Regions from separate parts of the Homo sapiens genome. Here all the other regions are linked to region 1. The links are contacts of gene promoters, found by promoter capture Hi-C in blood cells and fetal thymus (Javierre and others, 2016). All regions are on one chromosome and are shown on one strand. Each heading gives the region's core, a stretch centred on a gene start or on the middle of the fragment in contact. The rest is flanking DNA. Distances are from core to core; before and after follow the strand shown.

Evidence for each region. The method cuts DNA at HindIII sites, captures the fragments that hold promoters and counts their contacts. A CHiCAGO score of 5 or more calls a contact.
Region 2: the fragment with the promoter of ANKRD39 here is called in contact with the fragment with the promoter of TMEM127 in region 1 in 3 of 17 cell types (non-activated CD4 T cells, fetal thymus and naive CD8 T cells); the score reaches 8.0 in non-activated CD4 T cells.
Region 3: a fragment that was not itself captured here is called in contact with the fragment with the promoter of TMEM127 in region 1 in 1 of 17 cell types (total CD8 T cells); the score reaches 5.3 in total CD8 T cells.

The regions. Positions count from the first base shown.
Region 1 is chr2:96,264,550-96,267,249 of GRCh38, reverse strand. TMEM127 (transmembrane protein 127) reads left to right here and starts at 1,253. Exons shown (of 4, transcript NM_017849.4): 1 at 1,253-1,381; 2 at 1,738-2,112. The coding sequence starts at 1,869. It overlaps CIAO1 (cytosolic iron-sulfur assembly component 1), which reads right to left and starts at 1,025. Exons shown (of 7, transcript NM_004804.3): 1 at 761-1,025. The coding sequence starts at 899. RefSeq lists enhancers at 434-713, 944-1,133 and silencers at 1,364-1,413, 1,424-1,633, 1,684-1,993. The HindIII fragment of the contact is 2,360 bases long and covers 91-2,450 here.
Region 2 is chr2:96,856,592-96,859,291 of GRCh38, reverse strand. It overlaps ANKRD39 (ankyrin repeat domain 39), which reads left to right and starts at 1,276. Exons shown (of 4, transcript NM_016466.6): 1 at 1,276-1,404. The coding sequence starts at 1,305. RefSeq lists silencers at 746-1,415, 1,446-1,615. The HindIII fragment of the contact is 20,079 bases long and covers 1-2,700 here.
Region 3 is chr2:96,908,809-96,911,508 of GRCh38, reverse strand. All of the region lies in intron 12 of FAM178B (family with sequence similarity 178 member B), which reads left to right. Among named protein-coding and RNA genes, the nearest start is that of SEMA4C, 40 kb to the right of the region's middle. The HindIII fragment of the contact is 1,375 bases long and covers 761-2,135 here.

The DNA of each region.
Region 1 (2,700 bases), core at 4-2,503:
GCACTGGAATCAAGCTAGTGGGGGAAAGCTCAGGGAGTGTATTTCACAGCTTTTACAAAGATGCAAATGAATCTACTTCGTCTGGAAGCTTTTTTTTTTTTTTTTTTTTTTTTTTGAGACGGAGTTTTTGCTCTGATGCCCAGGCTGGGGTGCAATGGCACAATCTCGGCTCACTGCAATCTTCGCCTCCTGGGTTCAAGGGATTCTCCTGCCTCAGCCTCCCGAGTAGCTGGGATTACAGGTGCCCGCCACAACGCCCAGCTAATTTTGTAGTTTTAGTAGAGACGGGGTTTCACCATGTTGGCCAGGCTGGTCTTGACCTCTTGACCTCAGGTGATCTACCCGCCTCTGCTTCCCAAACTGCTAGGATTACAGGCGTGAGCCACCGCGCCCAACCTCTGGAGGCATCTTTCTAAAACAAATCTGATCTAAAATTGCTATTGGTTCCCCAATGCCCTCGGGATAAAATGTGACCATCCAGTCGCAAGTTACTCTGAAGGCCACTTTCCTAACACCTCTCTTTTCCCATTTTCCTGCCTCTGCAGCTAACACAATTCCCTTGACATTTCAGCTTGTCTGCTGACGTTTTTCCTCCCAACAGTCGCAGACTTCTTTGCCTGTAAAGCCCTTCTCGGCGTGGCTAACATCCCACTCTCCCTCCGCCAGGAACAGGTTCAGCCTCCCCTGCAGGCTGAGCGCCTGCACTACGCGCAGGCTGAGCCCTCAGCGCTGAGGGCCGCGCAACCAGGCTGGGCCTTACCCTCCGTGCCCCAGATGCGGATTCTCCGGTCGCCGCCGCACGAGGCCAGCAGGGTCCCCGCGGGGTTCCAGGCCAGGAACCAGCAGCGGGAGTCCGGGTGCGCCGGGACACGGCCCAGCAGCACCAGCGAGTCCTTCATGTCGGCCCGACGCAGGGGGAGGTGGGGGCGGGCAGAGTCCGCTGAGCAGACAGCGGGTCTCACCGCGCGCGTCTGCGTACCGCCCACTCCAGGCTTCCGCGGCCGACAGAGGCTCCCGCTTCCGCCGGAGGACCTGGGTCGCCCCGGAAACTCAACTGCCCACTGCTGCGGCCGCCATACCCTCTGGGAGTTGTAGTCGCTCCCCTCACCTCGGCAGGGAAAGCATCGCGGGACCGCCTCGAACTACCAGTCCCGTGAGGCCCTGCGCAGAGCCGGCGGCGCGCCCAGGCTGTGACGCGCGCGGGGGACGGGGCGGGGAGCCGGAGGAGGCGGAGGCAGAGGAGGAGGAAGCCGGAAGTGCATCGGCCCCGGGTCTGTCCGGGCGTTGCGGGATTGGGGCCTGGGAACGCTCGGCCCCCGGCAGCCGAGAAGCCCGTGACTGGGCTGAGCAGCACCATCCCAGCCCTGGGGCCTGCTGACTGGTGAGGAACAGTGGGCGGCGTGGGGAGGGTCTTTTCTGCGCACAGGTCGCACCCCAAACCGCCGGTCCCAGATCACGGGTCCCCGATCCCCGCGGCCCAGCCCGGTCCTCCGCCCCTCGGCATCCTCTGGCTGAGACCCTGACTCCGGGTCTTTGCTCTAGCAGTAGCCGATCCCCGATCCCTCCGCCCCCCACTCGAGTCTGCCCAGACCCCATCTGGCCCCTGGCCCTCTTCGGTTGTCGTCCCGCAGTCCCATTCCGGAGTCTCCTGTCTCCGCCCCCCGAATTCCCGCAGCCCTCCCCGTCTCCGTCAGCCCCGGGTCCCACCCCCCTATCCTCTGGTGTCAACCCTGACAGCCCAGTCCCGGCTTCACCTGCAGCGAACCCGGAGCGTTGCTATCCTCCACCGGACTGTCAGGCTCTGCGCGCCCCGCGGAGGTCGGCGGCGACCAGCAGCGACTGCGGAGCGACGGCGGGCGGCCCCGGGCATGTACGCCCCCGGAGGCGCAGGGCTGCCCGGCGGGCGCCGGCGGAGGAGCCCGGGAGGCAGCGCTCTGCCCAAGCAGCCGGAGCGTAGCCTGGCCTCGGCCCTGCCTGGCGCCCTGTCTATCACGGCGCTGTGCACTGCCCTCGCCGAGCCCGCCTGGTTGCACATCCACGGAGGCACCTGTTCGCGCCAGGAGCTGGGGGTCTCCGACGTGTTGGGCTATGTGCACCCGGACCTGCTGAAAGGTGAGGGTGCTGCGCGCTGGCCCTTAAAGCCTCGGTGGGGGACAGAATGTGTTCTGGCTGAAGCAGAGATAGCCAGGGACCAGACACTTGGTTGAAGGAAACGGCCCCATAACTGCCTGGTGTTCATGCCCACCAGGTGGCTCTGTTTGGGGTCCGGCCCCTCATTAATTCTGATGTTATTCAGCTAAGCACCTACTCCTCACAGCCATGTTAATCCGGACTGCTGCTATTTTAGGATTCTGCTGGAGGAAGGACGCTGTGTATCGAGAAAAGATAAGGGTGCTAGGTATCACAGTTAGCTGGCCTCTTCTAAGGATCCTGTGAAATACGGAAAAGCTTCTTTGGGGCAGACTGATTAATGGAGAAAAAGGAACTTTTAATATGACTAGGTTTTAAAAGATATCTTAGAGTTCTATGGTAATCGGATGCGTATTAGAGAAGAAGGGAATCTGTGGCATTTTAGGTAATCGGAAGACCGTTCCATTGCCACCCGCAGTACAACAGTCGGAATGTGGCTCTTGGAACCATTATAGGTGTGCCTGACAGAGGCAAGGTTGCTTTGTTCATCATCATGCTTTCCGGCCAGAT
Region 2 (2,700 bases), core at 27-2,526, 590 kb before region 1:
AGGAATGCTAGGGTCTTCCGTGCCCCAACTAGCGGGGGAAGGAACTTACATCCAGTGTGCACCAGACCACTGTCCTGGAGAGGGACTGGCACAGAACCCAACCTGCATTCTGTCGTTCATGCACTCTTTCTAAGCCGATCAGGCGGTCTCCCCTGTACACTTGATCGTGGCTTGAGCAGGCAGCTGCCTGGGTTTTAACTGGGAATTGAGAAGGCTGGGGTCCGCTGAGGAGCACGCTGCGAAGGTGCGCGGTCCGCAGACGGCCTCCCGGTGGGTTTTGATCATGAAGACCGATTCCGTAAACTCAGCGCCCACTGTGGGGCCAGGGGGTTCTGCACAAACCAAGGCCCTGCCCCTGCCCTGAGGTGGAGCTACAGGCAGGACAAGTTGTGGCCACCTGCCCCTTGCTGGACTTGTAAGGAAGAGCAGGGTACGGGGAGGGGCGTCTCGAGGCCTTTCCAGCCGTCACTTTGCCGCTGCCCCGGGGGCGGTCGGCCTTGGTCCGGGGTGGTGCCAGGAAGAGGGGCTAAAAACCGTGGAGCGCGCCCCGGCCCGATGGCTCACGCCTGTAATCCCAGCACTTTGGGAGGCCAAGGTGAGCGGATCACGAGGTCAAGAGATCGAGACCATCCTGGCGAAACCCCGTCTCTACTAAAAAATACAAAAAATTAGCCGGGCGTGGTGGCGGGCGCCTGTAGTCCCAGCTACTCAGGAGTCTGACGCAGGAGAATCGCTTGAACCCGGGAGGCGGAGGTTGCAGTGAGCCGAGATCGCGCCACTGCACACAAGTCTGGGTGACAGCGAGACTCCGTCTCAAAAAAAAAAAAAAAAAAAAAAAAGACCGCGGAGCGCGTGGCGCCTCCCTGCCCTAGGGACTAGGGGCGGTAAAGAGAGGAGGCTGCGAGGTCGCTGGACGGCTGGGTCATGGCGAAGGTAACGGGAAAGCTCCCGACCGGACCCAGCTGCCTCATCCCCACACCCTGCAAGGCCAGGCGGCCCGGCGGCCCTCCAGCGGCGCGCGGCTCCCGGAACCCAGCGCCTCAGTCCTCGCTTGGCCTTGGACGCCCTCGCGCGGAGGCCTCGGGGCACGGCCGGGCGCAACAAGCCCCGCCCTACCGTTGCAATTGGTTCTCGAGCTAAGGCCTAGGCGTTTGATTGGTCAGCTTTGGCGAGAAGGCGGGACTAGGGCGACAGCCGCGGACGCCGAGCGGCCAGATCAGGGACGCGGGGCGGGCCCTGCGTCCGCCCCTCCCGCCGAGGCTGAGCCTGAGACCCGGGGCGGATCGACTGACGCCGGGGCCGGGATGGCGACGCCTCGGCCCTGCGCGGACGGGCCCTGCTGCTCGCATCCCAGCGCGGTGCTCGGCGTACAGCAGACGCTGGAGGAGATGGACTTCGAGAGGGGTGAGGCTGCCGCGCGGCCCTCGTGGTTCTCACCAGGCCCCGGCCCAAGGAGGAGGCGTGGGGCCAAGGAGAGGCGGATGAACGGGGCCCCGAGAGCTTGGGGCTTGGGGCTTGGGGCCTGGTGCGGGAAGGCGGGCGGGACCCACGGTTCCCGTGTACTGAGAGCCTCCCAGGGCCCCGCACGAGCTCGGCCAGGAGACACCTGTCCCGCGGGCGGCGGGGAAGCGGAAGCACTGGTTTCCGTAACCCTCCCGAGTAGCGGGGGACGACCTCCCCTGGGAGACACAAGCCTGCTCAGGTGTTTGAGAGAGGGCCCGGGGAGCAGAATCTGCACCAGGGGCATTGCACCCAACCTGAGGGGCATGGAGCTGCAGGCCTGGGGGCTGCGCGGTGAAGGAGAGCAGTGGCCTTTGTTTAGCCCCGGGTGCCAGGCAGCCTGCATGCTTTAAAGATGGCAAGAGCTTCGCACGGGCAGCCTTCGAGGCAGGGCACAGTATCTCATCTGTGGGACCCAGAGAGGTAACACGTTTGGCCCAGATTATACAGAGATTATGGTGCCAATAGGAACAGAGGAAGGCGGGAAACCAGGGTGCTTCTTGTGAGCGTTGGGAACCACTGTGCTGTGTCATCTGCCCTTGCGGATGCAGCCCTCGATTGCCACTGCTGTGTAAGCATTCTCATGGAACTCTTCCTTTACCGTGGTTCTGGCACCTGCCTACTTCCCTCCGCCCCTCCTACCGCTGTCCTCTGCACTGCTGAAGTGGTTGCCTCAGAGGGTCTTTCTGCTTCCACGCTTGCCTTCCTACAGGGTTTTCTACTCTCACATAGCAGCCAGAGCGGCTTTTTGAAAATTAGAAATCACATCATTCCCTGTTATGGCCTACAAAGCTCTGTAGACCCACCCCTGCCGGTTCTACTTCTCCTCCTCATTTTATTTCTCATGCTTTTCTTCCCCCAATCACTACGCCGCAGCCACACTGGTCTTGTTTTGGTGTCTCAAATATGCAAGACCTTTTCCTGAGTTAAGGCCGTTGGACTTGCTGTCCCATCTCCTTAGAATGAACTTCCTACAACCGTTAAGCTAGCTGATGCTTTTCTTCAGATCCCAGCTCCAATGTCATCTCCTCAGAGACCCTCCCTAAACACCCCAGTTCTCAACTGGGGGCAGTTCTGCCCTTTAAGGGACTTTGAATATCTGGAGACATTTTGGGTTGTCACAATCAGGAGGGTGCTACAGGCGTGTAGTAGGTAGAGATGAGAGATGCTGTATACATGGTACAATGCACAGGACAGCTC
Region 3 (2,700 bases), core at 199-2,698, 640 kb before region 1:
GGGCATTGGTGCCCCCTTTCCCAGGCTCACATGCCACCCTGCTCCCTGCAGGCTTCCACGCTTTTGCCGCGTCCTAGAACTTGGCAGCCACCCCAACTCAAGATGATCATTTGCCTCCAAGCTTTTCCGCATCTGTCTCCTCCTGGAGAGGCCTCTTCCCATTGTCCTCCTCTGCCTGGTTCACATCTCTTCAGCCTCAAGACGAGGCTCCGGCCAAGGCATCTCCTCTTCGAGCAGCCCTTGTTGCAGGCCCATCAGGCTGTCCCCCTCACTGACGCGGGCCGTGAGCATCAGAGGGACAGGTGCTGTGGCCGTACTCCCTGAGTCCACAGAGCCTGGCATGGCAGGGGGACTCACTCAGCACACTCGTGCTTTGTCTGCTTCTGGAGGGTAGATTTCAAAGAAGCATAAAGAGGTAGAACTTAAAAAAAAAGATTCTAGGGCCAGGCACGGTGGCTCACACCTGTAATCCCAGCACTTTGGGAGGCTGAGGCAGGTGGATCACTTGAGGTCAAGAGTTCAAGACCAGCCTGGCCAACATGGTGAAACCCCGGGTCTACTAAAAATACAAAAATTAGCCGGGCATTGTGGTGTGCACCTGTAGTCCCAGCTACTCAGGAGGCTGAGGTTGTTGTAGTGAGCCAAGATCACGCCACTGCACTCCAGCCTGGGCGACAGAGCAAGACTGTCTCAAAAAAAAAAAAAAAAAAATTAAGAAGAGAGATGTCTCAGGTGGGCTGGGAGATCTTGCACTGAAGCTTTGAATATGGATTACAAAGGAGCCCAGTGAGGAAAAGAAGGGAAGCATTAAAGGCTGCAGGGGCTCCCCTCAGAGCTTGTTCGTGGTCTCAGGTTTGGAAAGAAGGGCACCAAAGTAAGGTAGCCGGACAAACGGCGTGGACCAGCGGGAGTGTTGTTGGGAAATGCCGAAGGCCATAAAAGGAGTTTCTGTGTAGTTACTTTTGAAGCAAGGAGTGCGGTTTGGGGCTGACAGTAAAACGTTAGCCCTGATGCAGACGGAACAACACTACACAATTCGTATTTTGCTTTTGCCGTCTTTGTCAAGGAGAACAGTTTTTCATTTGGAATCAAATATTGGTCGTCGAAGGGGGTTAAAGCCTAAGAGAGTGTGGGAGGCTGCATGACCAACCTCACTGTGCAGAGGAGGCCGTCTCCCCGGTGGGACGGCGTCTCACTGCTCCTGGGAGACATGAAGTTGGGGCCGTGGCTCCATGGGGACTTTTGGAGGCGGAGGGCTTCCAGGAGATGGGGGCAATGGTGCTTGATGTGCTCCTCCAGGTTATTCTCTAGGGGATTCCGGCTTGGGAGCACATACGTAGAAAAGGAAACACTGCTTTCTAGGAGTCCTAACAAGAAATCATACCAGGCAAGCCTCACTTTTCCACAGGTCAACCAGAATCATACTCCAGAGAGGACTGTGCAGTGCCTGTATGTAGGTTTCCTGGGCATTTGGTAGAGGCTGTCACCATAGGCTGGGTTCGGCATGAAGGAATGCGGGTCAAATGATGACAGAATGAAGTGGGCTCATTATCAAAAGGTGCTGCTGGCCATCAGAGTGTGCCCAGAGGGCAGGCCCTGTCACCACCCCGAGTTCTGTCTCCACTCACAGGTTGGCCAGGGCAGGCCCAGTGTTTTGGATGAGGCTATTAATGGAACAATGGTCAGATTCACAGATGACATGAATACAACTGACAGCAGACCGAAGATCCCAGAAGATCTCAACAGACTGTAATGATGGACTGAGTTGAAAAGGGAGGCCCAGCTGCACAATTAAGAACAGGATCTGGGAAATGGGATTTGACAGCAAGACGTGTGAAAAAAAAAGACTTTGGGCTCAATCTGTTAACTGCGTTGTGTTGTGGGGCTGCCAAGAAAATGAGCATCAGCCTCAACTCCGAGTGTCGCACTTGAAAGGGAACATTGACAACCCCCAGGGCCGTCAGAGGACCCAAACCAAAATGGCAAAAAAAGATACAAAAAGATGGGAATGAGGGGGCTGTGGCACCTGCAGGAAGGGGCAGCCACGGGAATGTGGCAACTTCTTCCAAGCGTAGAGGACCTAGGTTGGCGGAGAGCTCCCTCCTGGAGGCCCCAGAGGACAGGATCCAGAAGCTTTGAGTGGAAGTCCCAGAAGGGCAGGTTTTGGCAAAATATGGGAACGATTTCCTTTGGTTAGTCCGGTAAATGAATTTGGGCTGTCTTGGCAGATACTGCACTTCCTTTGCTGAAGTGAACACTTATTGGGGGTGTGGCAAAGAGAATTAAAATGGATAACTATGCAGAAGCTAGATTAGGTGACTTCAAGGTGTTTTCTTTTTTCTTTTTTCTTTTTTTTTTTTTTTTTTGAGACAGAGTCTTGATCTGTCGCCCAGGCTGGAGGGCGGTGGCGTGATGTCGGCTCACTGCAACCTCTGCCTCCCAGGTTCAAGTGATTCTCCTGCCTCAGCCTCCCAAGTAGCAGGCATTACAGGTACCTGTCACCACACCCGGCTAATTTTTGTATTTTTAGTAGAGACGGGGTTTCACCATGTTGGCCAGACTGGTCTCGAACTGACCTCAGGTGATCCTCCCACCTCAGCCTCCCAAAGTGCTGGGGTTACAGGCGAGAGCCACTGCGCCCAGCAGACTTCAAGGTGTTTTCTAAGCCTGAGGTTCTGTGATTTTTATCATACAAAGAGG